Linked DNA regions of Homo sapiens: region 2 is linked to region 1. The links are contacts of gene promoters, found by promoter capture Hi-C in blood cells and fetal thymus (Javierre and others, 2016). All regions are on one chromosome and are shown on one strand. Each heading gives the region's core, a stretch centred on a gene start or on the middle of the fragment in contact. The rest is flanking DNA. Distances are from core to core; before and after follow the strand shown.

The links. Contacts are between HindIII fragments. The CHiCAGO score rates a contact against its expected background, and 5 or more counts as called.
Region 2: a fragment that was not itself captured here is called in contact with the fragment with the promoter of KIAA1755 in region 1 in 1 of 17 cell types (monocytes); the score reaches 5.4 in monocytes.

The regions. Positions count from the first base shown.
Region 1 is chr20:38,259,317-38,262,016 of GRCh38, forward strand. It overlaps KIAA1755, which reads right to left and starts at 1,419. Exons shown (of 14, transcript NM_001029864.2): 1 at 1,182-1,419. The coding sequence starts at 1,184. LOC149684 (a long non-coding RNA gene) reads left to right here and starts at 859. Exons shown (of 2, transcript NR_104170.1): 1 at 859-1,040. RefSeq lists an enhancer at 1,177-1,676. The HindIII fragment of the contact is 7,247 bases long and covers 1-1,808 here.
Region 2 is chr20:38,058,286-38,060,985 of GRCh38, forward strand. It overlaps RPRD1B (regulation of nuclear pre-mRNA domain containing 1B), which reads left to right. Exons shown (of 7, transcript NM_021215.4): 5 at 1,109-1,235. Among named protein-coding and RNA genes, the nearest start is that of RPRD1B, 26 kb to the left of the region's middle. The HindIII fragment of the contact is 293 bases long and covers 1,126-1,418 here.

The DNA.
Region 1 (2,700 bases), core at 169-2,668:
TGTATGCCAATGTATGCCCATAGTTTAGCAGTATGGGGGAGCAGGTGCAGAAGGCATGGGTGTATGAGAGGGTGTGAACATGTGTTCAGCTGTGTGAGTCAGTGGGAGCATTCAGGTGTGCTCTGTGCGTGCATGTGTATGTGTGTGTGCATGTGTACGTGTGTGTGCATGTGTACGTGTGTGTGAGTGCCTGCGTGTGTGTGTGTGTGTGTGTGAGAGAGAGAGAGAGAGAGTATGAACACCTCTATATGGAATTCTTCTGCTTGTGGAGATGCATTTGCTGTGAGTGAAAACCCACACAAATTCAACATGGTTGGTCACAGTCACAGGGTTAAAGCCTTGGCCTGTCTTCACAGCTTTTTTCAAAATCCTTACAGCCCCTGTGAATCTGCCTGGGGCTCTTGTATCTGTCTGGAGCTGGGCTGAAATCCTCCAAAAACAGACTTTTCTTTCATTCCCTGTTGCCAGATACTGGCACAAACGCATCCCTGCCACCACCACCACCACACACACACACACACACACACACACACACACATTCTCCCAGAATGTCTCAACTTTTTTCAAGGTTCCAGCTCCAAAAGTCCCTTCCTCTTCCCTCTCCCCAGCCAATTCCCATGGAAGCACCCTGGGTTTCAATGTGTATATCTGACTTTCCATAGCTGAGTCTAAAACAGCAAAAGCATCCCAAGTTTTGGTAAGCAGTTCTCTCCTTTTCACCCTGGACCCTTAACCCTCCTCGCCCTGCACTGCCTGGCTGGCCTGGGAGGGGACTTTAACCCCCACCACCACTCTTCCCCATCCAAACTCCCTGCCGGGACAATGTGCATATCACAGTCAGTTCCAAAACAAACATGCAAAACCACCCCGTTTCAGCCCTCAGCCTCAGGGCTGAGATTCAGGCTCAGGTCTAGGGGTTGGGGAATATTAAAGTTTACAAGTACAATCTTACTCCATCCATACACACACATGGAGAAGCCAGGAGAGGACGCGGCCAGAGATGGGCTCCTGCCCTTGAACCCCTGCTGGGGTGGAAGCAGGTAAGCACAACCCTGCCAAGGCACTGAGGGTCGTCTCAGTGTAAAAGGCCAGGGCCACCCGGGGCTGTTCTGCAGGGAATGGGGAGGGCTGTGCCCACTGAAAGGGGGCAGAGCGAGGTGGTCCAGGCCTTGGCGCGTTACCATGGTGACGGGCTGCCAGCGGCGGGCGGCGCGGCTCCTCTCCTGGGCGCGGGGTCTGTGGGTCCGCGGGTCCGTCTGTCTGGGGCAGCCCTCGGTCCCGCCTAGCCCTGGAGCCAGGGGATAGGGCAGGCCCGGGGCACCGACCCCGGCGTCATCTCGGAGGAGCGGCCGGGGAGGACAGGGAGAGAGACTGAGAGAGAGACAGAGAGGGACTGAGGCTGGAGACGGCGAGAGACATAAGGGAGCCGCGGGCGGCGCGGGTCGGGCCACCAGACGGGGGGCGGCAGCAGAGGCGGGGCGGGGCGGGGCGCGGCGGGACAGCGGCCCCTTTGTGCCTGAGCCCTTTGTGCCCAGCCCGCGCGCCCCGCCCCCACCGCCCCCCCTTCCCTCCGTCCACCCCCTCAGCAGCCAGCTGGAACCCGAGGAACCCGAGTCCGCCCCGCCAAGTTTTCCTCCCCGCTCCTCGCTCTTCCCACGGCGCACCCGGCCCGGACAGCCCCATTGTACAGACCCGCAGAGCGAGGCCTCGAGCCGCAGCAGCCGGGTTAAGCGCCCGCGGACCTCGCTGGCAGGCCCAAGTTCGAGTCTCCTCCTCCTACACTTCCCAGGGAGTCACAGACTCTCTTAAGCTTCGATTTCTTCATCTGTAAAATGGGGTGGGAGGAGGATGATGATGATGATGATGATGATGATGATGATGATGATAGTGCCTGCTGCTTAGATTTGGTGATGAGGAGTAAGCATCTGTCCCAGCGCCCTTGAATTCTCCCACATTATGCCCCATCATGACGGCCTAATTCAAGGCTTTGAGGTGATGATGGCTGTGTGCGAGTTCTGTTCTTGACTCTCAGATAATGACCTTGGCCAAGTCGGTATTTCCTACTGAGCCTCAGCTTTGGAGTGAGACTAAGAAACTAGATGACCGCTAGGGTCTATATGTGTGTGTCCCCTCCCAAATTCGTATGTCCAGACCTAATCCTCAGTATGATGGCATTAGGAGGTGGGGCCTTTGGAAAGTGATTGGGTCATGAGAGGACAGAGCCCTCACGAATGGGATTAGTGCCTCTCTCTATATATATATATACACCTACATATATATACCTATATATATACATATATACACCTATATATATACATATATACACCTATATATATACATATATAGGCACTAATATGTATAGGCATATATACACACACATATATATACACACACATATATATACACACATATATACATATATATACACACACACGCACACACATATATATTTGAGATGGAGTCTCACTCTGTTGCCCACCCAAGCTGGAGTGCAGTGGCATGATCTCAGCTCACTGCAACCTCTACCTCCCAGGTTCAAGCAATTTTCCTGCCTCAGCCTCCCGAGCAGCTGGGATTTTAGGCACCCGCCACCACACCTGGCCAATTTTTGTATTTTTAGTAGAGACTGCATTTCGCCATGTTGGCCAGGCTGGTCTCGAACTCCTGACCTCAGGTGATCTGCCCACCTCACCCTCCTAA
Region 2 (2,700 bases), core at 22-2,521, 200 kb before region 1:
ACAGCTTTATTACACATGGTCATGCTTAAAGCCTATGTAAATAGGAAACATGTCTAGTTTGTGTTATGTTACGGTGTTGAGTTAGACTAGGGATTAAATGACAGCAGTGTTAGGTCATATATCTTTGGATTTAAACACTTTAAAGACTACAGCCTAGATTATTACCTTTCAGGGTAATCTAACTACCATCTACAGAGCTAGCTACTCCTTGGTGATTATGGAGTGGCCTGTTAGCATTGTTTTCTGACAATTTAAGAAACTCCTTTTTGATATATACAGAAAATGTATCCCTGGTTTACTTTTCTTGTTTTTTCCCCCTGGGTTTATAATAAGTTTGATACATTTAATTTTGGGAGTGACATCCATTTTGTCAAGAAAACCCAAGAAAGAATTGAAGTAGGTTGATCAGTCAACATATAATTTTTTCCTTCTCCTTCTTGAGACAGGATCTTGCTCTGTTACCCAGGCTGGCGTGCAGTAGCATGATCATAGTTCACTGCAAACTCAACCTCTGGGGCTCAAGTGATACTCCTACCTCAGCCTCCCAAGTAGCTGGGACTATAGACATATGCCACCATGCTTGGCTTATTATTTTATTTTAATTTTTTTGTAGAGACAGGGTGTCGCTATATTGTCCAGGCTGGTCTCGAACTCCTGGGCTCAAGTGATCCTCCTGCCTTGGCTTCCCAAAGTGCTAGGATTACAGGTGCGAGCCACCACACCTGGCCACAACACACAGTTGTTAACATCTGATATTTATACCTTTATTCTATACTGGAAATGATACATCATTTGAAATTAAGCAACATGAACCAAACTCCATTGTTTTGAATTGCCAAAAACATGTTCTTTTAGAATTAAAAAATAATAATAATTATTCAGAATTTCATTCATGTTCTGCCATGGACTTAGATAAACTAATTTTGTGGATTTTCTTAGAGTCCGTGACATTGACTTACATGTAAGCTCTGGGGCTAAGAACAGTTTTTTTTAAGAAATGGCAGGAATGACTGTTTTTAGAATTTGCCTCCACCTCATTTAACTCCAACTAATTTTCTTTAAACCCCATGTCTTAATGGGTAGTGTTGTTTGTGTTTTCATCTTACAGACTGAGGAACTAATCAAAGCTTTGCAGGATCTGGAAAATGCCGCATCAGGGGATGCTACTGTCCGACAGAAAATTGCTTCTCTGCCCCAGGAAGTGCAAGATGTTTCTCTATTGGAAAAAATAACAGGTGAGAAGGTAGAGTTTGGGTGAAAGGTGAGGAGAGAGGGACATAACTGTAATGCAGTAACCCTAGGCCATACTTAACGTCTGCAGGTATAGACTACTTTCCATGTTGTATTGGTTGCTCTACCATCTTGGGATTTGCAAACATAACTCACATGGTGAACAAAGAAACTTTTGAAATAGTCAAAGCTTGAATAGTGATTCTAGGAATTATTGCAGAAATGCTGGTGTGCCACAACCTGTGGCTCTCTAAATAAGGTCTGTTAAAAACATAGTACAAATTGTGTGCGTGTGGGGTGGGTGGGGGAGATTAGGTATTATTCTGTCTGTTAGACTCATAACCCTCTTACTAAAAGAAAAAAAATTATGATTCAGGGCTGTGTGATTTGTGCCCTGCTCTCTGACAAGCCCCGTAGATGATAGTGCGTTCAGTGCCAGGAATTTCAGGTGTCTGTTAGACATGTCATTTTGCCCTAGTCGTGACCTCCCTAGTTAAACAGGGAGGGGCAGTTGACACGATTCCTGCTTTCCTTATGGGAAATTGAAAGGAAGGAATGAAGCATGAACTAATATTGACAGTAGGCTTTGCACCGGTACTTCTGTTCTTTGTGATAGTCTTTGGAGGTGACTAAATGTGTGTCTCCATATTGCATAGGAGGACATTGAGGCTTTGAGAAGATAGGTGTCTTGTCCAAGGTCACACAAGTAGTGGATCTTGGGATTCTAATCTAGGCTGCAAAGCCTATGTTCCTCCCCTTACAAAAGCTCAGACCTTTCATTCCATTGTCTTCCAAAGGCCACCATTTTCCCACTCCAGTCCCTTGACTTGGCTGCTTCTCTAACTTCTTCCATATCTATCTAAAGGAAATCAAGGTCACTGATGAAATATTTCCCTCAACAAATATTTGAGGCCCACCTATATCCCCTCAAGTGAAGTGTCAAGAAGGAAAATAAAGCAGGGCAGTGGGAGCGGAAAATGATTGCAGGCGGTATTAATGGTATTTTAAAGGTGTTTGGGGAAAGCCTTTCTGATGAGATGACCTTGAGCAGAGACCCGAAAAATTAGGAAGCAAGCCATGAGGATATCCAAGGGAAGGAAGGGCCACCAGGCAGTGGAAGCAGCACAGGGAAAGACCTCAGGCAGTGGGCGTACTGGGTTGGAGAACACAGCTCGGAGGCCTTGTGAGTCACGCAAGAAGCATCTCAGCCCCTCACTCTGCTTTCCCACCCCAGGAATTCACCCCACTGGGACCTGCAGTCTCTTGATTCCTCCCCCACCTCTTCCTAGTCCTCGAGTCCTCATTTTCTTCTTTATTCAGATTGGAGTCTCTCTTTTCACTTCCTCACACACACCTTCAACCCATTTTCTTCTCTTTCTCCCTTCAGTGTAGTCTCCTGGCAAAATCCCTAAACAGGTTAAATCACATTTTAAAAATACTTACTACTAAAAGGACCACTTCATTTATTCT